Linked DNA regions of Homo sapiens: regions 2, 3 and 4 are each linked to region 1. Evidence: promoter capture Hi-C in 16 types of primary human blood cells and fetal thymus (Javierre and others, 2016). All regions are on one chromosome and are shown on one strand. Each heading gives the region's core, a stretch centred on a gene start or on the middle of the fragment in contact. The rest is flanking DNA. Distances are from core to core; before and after follow the strand shown. Region 1 holds the start of RGMA (repulsive guidance molecule BMP co-receptor a). Region 2 has its middle 35 kb from the start of LINC01581. Region 3 has its middle 15 kb from the start of LINC01581. Region 4 overlaps LINC01581 (long intergenic non-protein coding RNA 1581).

What was found. The method cuts DNA at HindIII sites, captures the fragments that hold promoters and counts their contacts. A CHiCAGO score of 5 or more calls a contact.
Region 2: a fragment that was not itself captured here is called in contact with the fragment with the promoter of RGMA in region 1 in 1 of 17 cell types (erythroblasts); the score reaches 5.4 in erythroblasts.
Region 3: a contact is called between a fragment that was not itself captured here and the fragment with the promoter of RGMA in region 1, in 10 of 17 cell types (M2 macrophages, neutrophils, M0 macrophages and 7 more). The highest score is 9.4, in M2 macrophages.
Region 4: a contact is called between a fragment that was not itself captured here and the fragment with the promoter of RGMA in region 1, in 2 of 17 cell types (M2 macrophages and M0 macrophages). The highest score is 5.9, in M2 macrophages.

What each region holds. Positions count from the first base shown.
Region 1 is chr15:93,087,618-93,090,986 of GRCh38, reverse strand. It overlaps RGMA (repulsive guidance molecule BMP co-receptor a), which reads left to right and starts at 1,776. Exons shown (of 4, transcript NM_020211.3): 1 at 1,776-2,068. The coding sequence starts at 2,055. It overlaps LOC101927025 (a long non-coding RNA gene), which reads right to left and starts at 1,773. Exons shown (of 5, transcript XR_007064769.1): 1 at 1,710-1,773. The HindIII fragment of the contact is 10,450 bases long and covers 1-3,369 here.
Region 2 is chr15:94,141,372-94,144,740 of GRCh38, reverse strand. No RefSeq gene overlaps it. Among named protein-coding and RNA genes, the nearest start is that of LINC01581, 35 kb to the right of the region's middle. The HindIII fragment of the contact is 3,948 bases long and covers 1-3,369 here.
Region 3 is chr15:94,121,674-94,125,042 of GRCh38, reverse strand. No RefSeq gene overlaps it. Among named protein-coding and RNA genes, the nearest start is that of LINC01581, 15 kb to the right of the region's middle. The HindIII fragment of the contact is 1,934 bases long and covers 698-2,631 here.
Region 4 is chr15:94,089,582-94,092,950 of GRCh38, reverse strand. All of the region lies in intron 1 of LINC01581 (long intergenic non-protein coding RNA 1581), which reads left to right. All of the region lies in intron 1 of LOC105369203 (a long non-coding RNA gene), which reads left to right. Among named protein-coding and RNA genes, the nearest start is that of LINC01581, 17 kb to the left of the region's middle. The HindIII fragment of the contact is 2,179 bases long and covers 790-2,968 here.

The DNA of each region.
Region 1 (3,369 bases), core at 527-3,026:
GTTACTTTCCAAAGGCCTCATTTTAAAAAGACACGTTTCCACTTACAGACCTTTTAAAAATGCCAGGCAATTTGGAAGAACAGTAAGAAATCTACTATCTGCGTGACAGTCATTCAGAGATTCTTGTAGTGTGCCAGGCACCATATTAAGTGCTAGGAATGCAATGATGACTCCAAGGAGTCCTGGTTCCTGCCCTCATGATGCTTATGGTACGGTGGGAGAGGCCAACATGTAGGGAAAGGTCACTCTAATGAGCGCCTAATTACCGAGTGAGCTCAGTGTTAGGAAGGAAAGGCACGGATGTGAGGACTCCCTAGAGGGTGGGGAAGATGTTGGAGCTGAGCTATGAAAGATGAAGAAATTGGTTATTCACTGAATGTCAGGGCACAGAATGTCAGGGCAGGAAGACCACACACACACACACACACACACACACACACACACACACACACACCCTACTATTCATAGATGAGGAAACTGAGGCCCAGCAGAGCTAGATGACTTGCCGAAGGTCAGAGCTAATTCTAGAAACCCATCCCCAATCCCTTCCTGCTAAACCACTTAATTTTATTTATATCCCAGCTATAGATTATACAAATACACTTGACAAATAAAACGGAGAATATTGAGTTAAAACCACATCTCTGAAGACCACACGCATAAATAACGATCGTGTTTTAATGCGGACGATACCTTTTCATTTTGCAAATCCAGAGTTCTCATCATATCAAAATTCAAGACAGTTTGTTCTGTAAGAAGGGGAAGGTCATAACCCTGTCTAGAATGTACTGGCAAATCTCTCTAACCGTGCAGTGCTAATTTGGGCCTGAGCTGTGTAACCAGACCGACTTCACGCTCCAGCTGGGGTTTCAGATCCACACATGGCGATTGGGTGGCTCTTTGCTGTTTCACAGCAAGGGTCCTTCCCTGGGCTCCCGGAGCCTCTGGGGATTTACTGCTCCCGACGTGGCCGTGTTCAAGCCACTGTGTGCATGCGCTTAATGTTGAAAACATTCTTTTGAAAAGCCCAGGAGATTCCACTCGCAATCTGTGCGTGTGCATGTAAAAGCGCAGAGACTGGAAAGAACCGCGGCAGAGCACACCCTGACCGAAGGTTACCGCGGGGGAGCCGCGGCCGTGGGAGAGCCGCGGCCGTGGGAGGGAGTGCGATACGGTCTTTTCACTCTAGACACTCCTGAGTTATGTACAATTCTACGCAAGAATGTATGCGTGTGTTAGCATGTAATACATATGTATTAGTTTTTTCAGGAAGATTCTTAAACAACAACAAAATCTCTATAGAACAAAGGTGCGTCTCCGCAGAGCGCAACAGCATTTGTCTTGGATGTAACCGCCTTCTCCAGAAATCTCAGAGGAACTCCCCTCGACCACCGCCTAACTGAAGGACACCGTGCGCTCCACCGCAACCCTGCGGGCGATTCGGAAAGTTGGAGGCGCCCCGGGGAGTCGCCGCACTTGCCGCCCGCGCCCCCTAACCTGAGCATTCAAGGAGTCTTGACTTGGCCGCTGGCGCACTCCGCACCCACCCAGCCGGTGCTGATGCGGGAGGGTGGGGCCGCGGCGGGGCGGGGCAACGCGAGCCCGCACCCCGCTCCTCCCCGCCCCTCCCTGCCGGCCCCGCCCGCGCGCGCCCCCCGCCCGCGGCCCGGGCGCCCGGCCCGCCCCCTCCCCTCGGCGCGCAAACGAACCTCGCGACGCCGCGCTCGGCGGCGGGCGGGGGCCGGGCGAGGGAGGGGGCTGGTCCCGGCCGCCCCACTCTGCAGTTGTCTCCCGAGCGCTGGCTGCGCCGCCCGAGCCGCTGGGCCGGGGAAGCACTGGCCGTTCGCTCCCGGGCCGGCTCCGCCAGGCGCTCGCAGGCATGCAGCCCGGGAGCAGGAGGCGCTCCCCGGGCCGCTGCTGAGCCGGCCGGGGCGGCGGGGACCAGCGCCAGCGGAGCCCCTCCCACCTTGCCCCGGGGCAGACGAGCGGCGCCCCGACACCCCCTCTTCTCCCGCAGCCCCGCCAGCGCCACCCCCCGCGGGCCGCAGGGGCTCATGCAGCCGCCAAGGTAAGCGCGGGTCGGGAGCCGGGCAGACCCGGCTCTGACATCTCCGAGGCGCCGCCGACACATGCCGGGGCCACGGCGCTGCTTTGGTCTTCCTTAGCCCCGCGTCTCATCTTGCTCCCATCTTGCCCACATTTGGAGCTTTGCTGCGCCTCTATCGCTTTAGCTGTTGGCAGCAGGAAAGTTTTTGTGGTTTGGTGTTTGTTCTTTTTTCCTAAAATACTCTCCCCCGGGCAGCCGCCAGCGCGCGTGGTTGGGCAGACCCGGCACACGTCCCTTACACCGTGTGCGGGCTGGGAGCTCCTTCCCTCAGCCCGGCTCGCGGAGCCCCGGACGGAGCCGGCCACCCGACTGTCCCGCCGTGAACCCCCATTGGCCCGCGCCGCCCGGGCCCCCGCCTCCCGCTCGACGCCCGGCTGCGGAGCTGCCTGGCCATCTCCTGCCCTCGGGGATGTCGGCGCAGTGCACCGCGTGGGCTCGCGTCCCGGCGGCCCTTTGCCTCGGCGCGCCGGCGTACGGGAAGGTGCGGACCTTGGATTGAGGGCCGAGGATGCCCATTGCCAAGCCGCCCCGGCTTTCCTAAGTGGACGGGAGGGCACGGCGACGATTCAGCGCCGGCTCGCGCCGCAGCTCAACCCAGGGTACAAGCCCGGGCATGGGGGACAGGTGTATTCAATGGGAGGGCGGGTGTGGGGGACGCTCGGGTGCAATTCGGGATTGCGTCTTATTAATGTAATTGTATTAGACTTGCTCGGAGGTAGAATCAGTTCTCCCAAATTGAGATTTCTAATGGGAGCCTGTGAGCTGCTATTATGTGGTGTGGTTTTGGGAGGTGTTGGGTTGTATTTATTTTATAAATTGGGTGTCTCGCGGGCGGAGTAGGGGAAGTAGCGCCATCTAGCGGAAGTGGTGAGCTGTGCATTCCTCTTAGGCTGCGAAGTTGTTGGGTGTTCTCAAAGTAGTCTCCCGCACAAGGTGGAGAGGCGGGAACCAGCCCTCGCCTCCAGGAAGGAGGCTACAGAAGCTCTCTGAGTATCGACGGTACCAGGGAGAACCCCGACCTCCCATGCTCAGCACATTGAGCTCAGGGGACGAAATTGCGGGTCGTGTTGAGTGGCATGCTGTCACCTAAAGGAGCTCCATCACCTTCTCTGTTTGGTTTTAGACTCTTCCAGCAAAAACGTAATATAAAATGTTAACTGCTGTAAGAAGATGCCCCTTCCGCAGGTATCTGGTGCAGAGATCTTGAAAACCAATGCACAAACCTCTGTCTTCTCCTGTGCATCACAAACGGGTGATTTCTT
Region 2 (3,369 bases), core at 477-2,976, 1.1 Mb before region 1:
CAAGAAGCATGATGCAGACAGCATGATGCAGACATCTGCTCAGCTGCTTGTGAGGGCCTCAGGCCCCTTCCACTCAGGGTGGAAGGCAAAGGGAAGCTGGTTTATGCAGACATCACATAGCAAGAGAGGAAGCAAGCAGGTGGGGGAGATGCCAGGCTCTTTTTAACAATCAGCTCTTGTGGGAACTAATAGAGTGGAAACTCACTTACTCCTGAGAAAGATCATTAATCTAATCATGAGAGAATCAGCTCCCATGACCAAAACACATCCATTAGGACCCACCTTTAACATTGGGAACAAAATTTTAACATGAGGTTGGAGGGGAGAAACATCAAAGTATAGCACTTTTGTTGGAAGAGGACAGTAAAACCCATAACCTCTATAATATGTCATCTTGAATTTCAGGTTTCCCATTTGAAGCACTGGAGCAACTGACCAAAATAAAATTTTTAGAAAACCATAGAAAAAACCCACAGGAGATCCAGATAGTCAAGTTAAAATAACTATGATAAAAATGCTTTTAAAAGTGGGAAAATATGACAAGTTTTATAGAGTACAGGATCTGTAAACTGAAACTTTAGAACTGACAACACTGTATCTGACAGTAAGAAATTAATTTATAGGTTTAATAGAAGATTAGACACAACAGAACAGATAATTGGTGAGCTACAAGATAAGTCAGTGCAAAAATATCAAAACTGAAAGACAAAATGACATCAAAAGATGAAAAGAAAACACAAAAGACAAGGCATATGTGCCTAACAGCATGATCTAATTGAAATATAATGGGAGTATCAACTGTGAATAACACTTTTCCAGAAATACAAAATGTATAAAATTTTATCACTGGAAGGACTGCATTATTAGAAATGTTAATGGACCATTCTTCAGGCAGAAGAAAAAAAACACAAGAGAGAAATGTCAATCTACAAAAGTGAATAAAGAACACCAAAAAGTTGTCTATAAATGTAAATATATAAAACTTAAAAATACTTTAATCCTTTAAAAGATAATAGACTGCTTAAATAAGGTAATAGCAATGTAGTGTGGAAGTTTAGAATATATGTGGAAGTACAGTGTATACAAACAATAACAATAAAGTTGAGGGGAAAAATGAAGATACAATGTTATAAGTTTCTTACACTACATGCAAAGGTGTATAATATCACTTGAAGTAAGATGGCGATTAAATAAAAATGTATACTATAAGTCCTAAAAGATCCATCAAAGTAACAAAATAATGAGTCATGGCTAGTAAGTCAAGAAAGGAAATAAAGTGGAACCATAAAAAAAATCATTTAATTCCAGATAAAGCAAAAGAACGGGAATAAGAACACAAATAATAGATGGTTAGAAAACAAATAGCAAGATGGTAGGTTTACGCCTACCATTTATTTATTTATTTATTTATTTATTTATTTATTTATTTATTTGAGACAGAGTCTTGCTCTGTCGCCCAGGCTGGAGTGCAGTGGCATGATCTCGGCTCACTGCAAGCTCCACCTCCCGGGTTCACGCCATTCTCCTGCCTCAACCTCCTGAGTATCTGGGACTACAGGCGCCCGCCACCACGCCTGGCTAATTTTTTGTATATTTAGTAGAGACGGGGTTTCACCATGTTAGCCAGGATGGTCTCGATCTCTTGACCTTGTGATCTGTCCACCTCGGCCCCGCAAAGTTATTATTTTTTTCTTTTTTGAGACGGAATCTTGCTCTGTACCCCAGGCTGGAGTGCAGTGGCGCGATCTTGGCTCACTGCAAGCTCAGCCTCCTGGGTTCACGCCATTCTCCTGCCTCAGCCTCCCAAGTTGCTGGGACTACAGGCGCCCGCCACCATGCCCAGCTAATTTTTTTGTATTTTTAGTAGAGACGGGATTTCACCGTGTTAGCCAGGATGGTCTTGATTTCCTAACCTCGTGATCCACCCGCCTCTGCCTCCCAAAGTGCTGGGATTACAGGCGTGAGCCACTGCGCCAGGCTAAGCCTACCATTTTAACAATTACTTTACATATAAAATGTCTAAATACCTCAATTATAGGTCAGAAGTTGTGAGATGGATAAAATAAGCAAGACTTATCTGTATGCTATTTATAAGAAACGTGCTTTAATTACAAAGACACAAATAGGTTAAAATGATAGAAAAATATATTCCATGCCAACCCTAATAAAAATAATGCTGGAATGACTATACTAATATATGACAAACTGCATTACAGAGCAAAGATATATCCAAAGGGATATACGAAGTCACTTCATAATAATAAAAAGCTCAATTTATCAAGAAGATATAACAATCATGAATGTTTATGCACCTGATAATGGAGTGTCAAAATTCATGAAACAAAAATGGATGAAACTGGAAAGAGAAACAGACAATTACACAATTAGATGTCTCTCTCTCTCTCTCTGTCTCTGTCTCTCTCTCTGTCTCCTCTCTCTAACTCACTATAATGGAAATAAAGAATGCCTATGAAGAGCTCACCAGTAGACTAGGTATAGCTGAGAAAAGAGCCAATATTCTTGAATATAAGTCAAAAGAAATATCCTAAATATAAATGCAAAAACTGAAAAAGAAAGGAAGGATAAAAGAAAGAAGGAATGAAGGGAGGAAGGAAGGAAAGAAGGAAGGCGAGAGAGGGGGAATAACACAGGGAGAGAAACAGAGAAGAAAGGAGAAAGAGAAAGAGAGGAGAGAAGAAAACAATAAAAAATTGTAGAGACAATTTCCAAATGTGCAACGTAAGCACAATTGGAATGCTAGAAAGAAAAAAGAGAAAGCCAGAAGGAAAGAAAGGAGAGAGAATATTTCAGTGATATTGTTATTTGAGTGGTAATGACCAAGAATTTTGAGAGACACAAAATCAGAAATACAGGAAGCTCAGAGAGCACCAGTCACAATAAATACCAAAATAATACAGCTAGGCATATACTATTTAAATTGCAGAAAACCAAAGACAAGAAGAAAATGTAGAAAGAAGCCAGAGGGGGGGAAAATGCCTTATCAGTAGAGGACAAATGTTAAGAATTACAGCTGACTTTTCATTGGAAACCATGCAAGTAAGAAGAGTGGAATAAAATATTTAAAGTGTTGAAAGACAAAAAAAGCCAAAGTGAAAATTTATAGTCATCAGCATTGTCCTTCAAAAGTTAAGAATAAAGAGTTTCTCAGACAAACAAACCTGAGAGAATTTATTGTCATCAGGTCTGCCCTTTAAGAGATGTTCAAAAAGAAGTTCTTCAGGTAGAAAGAAAATAATGTAAGCCAGAAACTGAGATCTACGTAAAGAAAGAAAGAATATCAGAGAAGGAATAAATGTAGATAAAATAACATCTTTTATTTTTCTTGTACTTATTCAAGATAGTAGTGTA
Region 3 (3,369 bases), core at 415-2,914, 1.0 Mb before region 1:
TTTGGCATCTTTCATCATTTCTAGAGGAAAGTAGTGTAGACCAATGGTTAAAAACCTGTACTTGGGGGTCATGCTATCGTGGGTTTAAAACCTTGCTCTACCACTTTCTAGTTGTGTGTACTTGAGCAATTTTCATAACCTTTATGAGCCTTGCTTTCCTTATCAATAAAGTGGGATCATAATAGTACCTCCCTCAAAGGGTTGTGAAATTAATTAGGGTACTATATATCTATTAATAACTACAGTAATTATCCGGGGGAGAGGGAAGACAGCTTGAGATGTCTGTGTGATTTTGAGCAAGTTATAGATATAGGCTTGCTAGAGCTGAGAAGGAGCCGAGGAAGCTTTTGGTTCAATTTACAGATAATGAAATGAAGTTCAAGAGATAGCCAATGTCACAGAGATTCTTTATACCTGGGTGAAGACCAAGATCATAGTACTGAGCAGGATTCTCTTAATTGCTCAGTACCCATTTTGTTAATAGCCTACCTCTTCTAGAAAAAATGCTTGGGTTTTTTAACTCTACTATGCAAATTAACTTGGTGCAGATTGATACTGTAACTGCCCAGGGGTTTCTTCCTGTCCACTGAATAAAGAAAGACCATGACATTATAGTGGAGAAAGAGTTTAGTAGACAAAAGGCCATCCATGCCACATGGGAGATAGAGTTCGTACTCAAATCACGTTGTTCAAAGCTTGTAGGTTAGGGGTTTTTTAACGGCAGTTTGGGAGAAGGGGTGGGAATGGCCAGGTAACAGGTGCTTACTGCTGATTGATTGGGGCAGAGATGGAATCATAGGGGGTTGATGCTGTCCTCCTGCAGGCTGAATTGCTTCTGGGTGAGGCCACAGGAGTGGGGTTGTCGGTCCAGATGCAGCCATTGGGTCCAGGTGGAGTCGTAGGGGTCAGACATGCAAAAAAACCTGGAAAGAGATCTCAAAAGGCCAATCTACAATAGCGGTGTTATTTGTAGGAGTAATTGAAGGAAGTTGTATATCTTATAACCTCTGAATAATTTCTGCACTTTAGCAGGACCCAGGTTCCTCTCCTTCCCTCAGCCTGGAGGCCTCCTATTAGTTTTACAAAAGAAGTAGAGTTTTGGGCGAGGCCTATTATCATTTAAAATGAAGCCTAAATGTCTTCCAAAGTTAGCTTGGCCCTGTAGCCCAGGAACAGTTCAGGAAAAGGCAAGATGGGGGGTGGGTTAGCTTAGCTTACAGTTATAATTTTCTCACTGATATAAGTTTTGCAAAGGCTGTTTCAATACCCTAAAAATCCACAACCCTTGTCGTGTTCCCTTTCAGAGCCCTTCAGTTGCTCTCTTCAAACTTTCATCTCTTCTTCCCGCCCACCCTGAGCACACAGTTGTACTTCCAGTGTGTATTTCACACACACATACAAAATGCTCAATCCATGAAACCTTTAACTTTATGCCCTTTTCATAAACTATTCTGCACTGGTTTTCCTCTTTGCCTCTTCTCTTTTTGCCTCATTTGCCTTTCTGAACTTTTCATCTCTTTTCCATGAAGGAGGGAGTAGACAATAGGGTCCAATACTGGAGCGAGGATCTAAAAACTAAATATTGGCTGTTGGCTTTTGTGTTCTGGAAGTCTTAGTTTGGTACCCAATTTCTTTATCTTATTTATTCTGCCACCGTCAGAGGTGTTTGAACCAGAGTGACTCCATCTTGAATAGGGGCTGGGTAAAATGAGGCTGAGACCTACCGGGATGCATTCCCAGGTAGTTAGGCAGTCTTAGTCACAGAATGACATAGGAGGTCAACACAAGATATAGGTCACTTTTATCAGACCTTGCTAATAAAACAGTTTGCAGTAAAGAAACCAGCCAAAGCCCACCAAAGCAAAGATGGTGATGAAAGTGACCTCTGGTTATCCTCGCTGCTCATTATATGCTAATTATAATGCATTAGCATGCTAAAAGACACTCCCACCAGTGCCATGGCAGCTTACAAATGCCATGGCAATGTTTGGACCTTACCCTAAATGGTCTTAAAAGGGGAGGAGCCCTCAGTTCCAGAAATTGCCCATCCCTTTCTGGGAAAACTCATGAATAAGCCACCCCTTGTTTAGCATACAATCAATAAATAATCATAAAAATAGCCAGCCAGCAGCCTTCAGAGCTGCTCTGTTTATAGAGTAGCCATTCTTTTATTTCTTTAGTTTCCTAATAAACTTGCTTTCACTTTATGAACTCGCGGAATTCTTTCATGAGCAAGGTCCAAGAACTCTCTCTTGCCGTCTAGATTGGGACCCCTTTCCAGTAACACCACTAACAACTGCTTTTGCTAAATCATGGTGTTACCTCTGCAATCTTACAAACACTTCCTCATCTGAGTAGACTACTATGAAACATTTGATGCTGTTGGCAACCCCTGCTTCTCTAAAGTCCTCTTCCCACTTCATCTATCCTGTTTTCTTCTTACTTCTCTGGCTGCTTGTTTTCCATATCAGCAATAAGGCTGTTTTCTTTTTTATCATTCACGTGTTCACTGGAATAGCACTATTCATTTCCTCCAACAACTTTTCCTTTGCATTCACAACTTGGCTAACCGATACAAGAGACCTAGCCTTTGGCCTACCTCTGCTTTTGACATGCCTTCCTTAGTAAGCTTAATCAATTCATGGAAAAATATGCAGCCATGAAAAGGAACAAGATCATGTCCTTTACTGGGACATGGATGAAGCTGGAAGCTGTTATCCTCAGCAAACTAACACAGGAACAGAAAACCAAACACAACATGTTCTCACTTATAAGAGGGAGCTGAGCAATGAGAACACATGGACACAGAGAGGGGAACAACACTTACTGGGGGCTGTCAGGGGAGGGCAGGGGGTGGGGATGGCATTAGAAAAAGAGCTAATGGATGCCCGGCTTAATACCTAGGTGATGGGTTGATGGGTGCAGCAAACCACCATGGAACACGTTTACCTATGTAACAAACCTGCACATCCTGCACATGTACCCCAGAACTTAAAAAGAAAATAGTGAGAGATGTAGTACTCTTCCTTTCCCTCAAACACTTAATTGGCCTAATTCCAATATTGTTATGTCTCAAGGAAGTAGGAGGCCTGGGGAGAAGGAGACAGAGGGGGCAACAACCCCCATCATAATATGCACACCATTCATCAATCACCTTTGCTGTCTTCTATGGGCATGGCTTGTGGCATCTCAAAACAACTGCAATAGTAACATCAAAAGTCAGTGATCATAGATCACCATAATGAATACAATTATAATGAAGTAGGTTGAAATATTGTGAGAATTGCCAAAATGTGACACAAAGACATGAAGTGGGCAAATGCTGTTAGAAAATGGTGCCAATGAACTTTCTCAATACAGGGTTCCAAC
Region 4 (3,369 bases), core at 630-3,129, 1.0 Mb before region 1:
GGCATTAGTGCATGATTCTTTCTTCTCACTGAGGCTCAGTATCACCCCTTCCCATGTCATATGTTCACGGATGCCACGATGTCTTCTTTTATCCTCCCAGGGTTGTAAGCCAGGGTTTTCTTCACTTTAGTACTTATAAGTAGAAAGCTTTTTGAAGTACATGGTTTTCCTCTATTGATTATGGAGTATAATATGAGGATTGACCATAGCACTCATCCTCACCAATACTTATCTTTTGTCTTTTGTCTTTTTGATAACATCTAGGTATTTCCAGTGCCTAGCAAAGGAGAAAAGAATGAGTAATCCAAATAAATGTAATCATTTTTGTTTTTGTAGGATGCAGGTTGTTATTATGTGCGTGACTTTATCTATATAACAAGGATACCTTCAGTGTCTCTAATTATCCATCTCTCATTAAATAGACTCAGCCAATGATGATTAAAAATAACACCACCACCCATAAGAGTAGCTACCTCGGTTTTCATAATAATGGAAAAGTAAAAATTCCCTAGAATGGTGTCCCCAAACAGGAGGTGGTTTTGACTAAATTATGTCACAATTAGTAGTGAAATATATCCATAAAAATTGATATGGGAGACTATGTAATAACATGAATAGATGCTTGTAATATGTAGTATAAGGGGAAGAAGGATGAAGTACAACATATTCTTTCAGTATTATAAAAACACAAGAGAAAAAGAGAGAATAAGACCAAACCATAAATACCAACATGAGGAACAACTACTAACACGCTAAATTACCTCCAAGTGTCAGGATTGAGGGTAAGCTTTCAATTTATTTTTAGTTAACATGTACCTGTTTTCTAAATTTCTAACTAGACATGTTTCCTTTTAAAGAAAAGAGTTCTTGTGAGCACTTCTAATGGTTTTCCTCTGCCTTCCATTTTCATCAGATTGATGACATCACATTCTCCTTCTCGTTGTCTTTTGTAGCTCCTTTCAATTTACTAGCTCCCAGCACACCCAGTCAGCAAACATTCATTGAACTCTTTGTAATCTGTGTATGCAAGTAATGGAGCTATGTTCAGATGATGTATAGGGAAATTAGACATAATCTCAAACTTCAAGGGGTTCACTATTCATGCCATGGTGCGGACTAATAGTTAAACATAGCTCTTCACTGAGTGCTCATGGAAGAGACCGTATGCTTAGAGTACAGGGCAAGGGTCTGGGTGTGTCAGTAAGCAGGAATCAGAGACTTGCTTTTTTAGAATCGTGCCTAAAATGAAAAGGAACACACGCAGAGTCCTCCTATGCAGGGTCTCCATGGTATACTATAGGGACAATGGGGTATCTGTGCATCCACCTTAGAGAAAATGCTTTACTCGCTTTAGCGTGATGGAATCTTTTGCTTAAATGGCACTGTGATATTGTTGGCTGTTACCAGAGTTTTGCCGTGTGGTCCTACTGCTGATCTTTGCCTTTTTGGGGGAGGAAGAGCTGTTTTCACCACAGCTTGGCCCCATCAAATTAAAGGGAAATAAACATATGTATAGAATGAACCCAGAAGAGGATTTGTGAGTTCTTAATTTTAGAAATACATACTTTGTAGGATAGAGTTAGTAAAAACATAAAAAGGAGAGAATTCATTTTAAACAGTCAGAATTATTTCTTGCACTTTAAAGCACAAATGTAACCCTTTAACAGTCTTATGAGATGTCATATAATCTGTTTCAGATTTAATTAAAACATAAAGTGATATATCTTTTTGATAATGCTACAAGTTACCTTTCCCCACAATAATTTCAGTCTTTACTTTTCTGATCATGCTAATATAGTAAACCCCTGAAATGTCTACTCCATTTTTAAGTTTGGGTTGATTTCTTATCAATGCTTGGCAAATACCTCTTTTCTATTGCCTGCTTTGCTGTGAGACCAACCTTGAAGAACATGTAGATCTTTCTATGAAAGTGGTTGATCAGAATTCTGCATCTTTGTAAGTTCACTTGTTTCACCTTTATACCATATGCAGATTGCTATTAAAAGATGTTAATAAATTTGGTGACTGTTGGATGTGCTTTCTGGTTGATGTGAAAAATAATACTGTTAAGGAATGTGAACATTCATCGGTGAGTGTTTATTAAAGTCTCAGGCCTACCAAGCCTTTAGCTTAAGAGGTCAATCTTGGCTGCAAAAGCTGAAGAGAATCCAATTTACTTATAACTAACAATATTTTATTATTGCATCAGTATAACAGGTATTAGGAAACTGGCATGCTCACATGCTACACAGTATTTTGTGCTTTAAGAATCTCTGACATGGTTTTCTTATTTTCATCATTTTTTTGGTGTCTAGAAAGATGTGAATGTGTGCTTTTTGCTGCAAACTTAAGGTGTGTTTAACTGAGCTATCTTTCTTAAAATAGAAGGTGGCCATTTTCCTTCATTTAGTGTTTTGTAGTATACAAACAGTTTCCTGGACTGCTAGCCCTCGAAATGTTACATTTGACAGAAGCCAAAAGAACATGCTCTGAAACAATATCCAGGTAATTGGGCACTTACATTTGAAATACACAAGCACAGCTATGATGGTCATGGTGAGGAAGGATAACATGCTATTAAAGGTGACAGGTGCTGGGGCCACACTTGGGTCCAAGTCTTATTTCTCTCACGACTGGCTATGTACTTGGGGAAAAATCCTTTATCCTCTGCAAGAGTCCATTTTCTCATCAGTGACATAGAGATTATGAATATTATCTCACTGTGATTGTGAAGATTAAATGATATGCCTATATATAATGCTTGTAGCCTAGAGCCAGGCACATTGTCAACAGCCTTGATAACAGCTGGCAAATATTGTTTTATAAAGGAAACTGTGTAGTAAGTAGCTCCGCAGCTCTATCTTATTTTATTCTGGTTCTGCCCCTTACAAGTTTGTATGCTTTGGGGCATGTCACTTCACCTTATTGCTCTTTAATTTTTTGTTAAAAAGATGTAGATACCTAAGCTTAACTAGCCTACCTCTGTTTCCAGGTTTACTTGCAAGCTCCCATCAAATCTGGGTGAAAAGTGACTTTCTCAAAAAGATCTAGAGGCTGGGAGCCGAGGTAGACATGGAGACGCATTGACCTGGTTCTGTCCCAGCTGCTCAGCCACCAGCATTGTAGTTACCTGACAGCTGAGGCCTTGCTATTCTCAGGTGTCCCTGGTCAATGACCCAGCAAGGCGGGGATAGCCAGGGGCAGATCCTTTGCAGGTGATTCCCGACCAATGCATGAGGAAAAAGCCTGAAAAGAAGTAGCTATTGTGGGGAAAGGTAACTTGTAGCATTATCAAAAAGATATATCCCTTTATGTTTTAATTAAGTCTGAAACATAGATTATATGATATGTCATAATGATGCAAGGGGC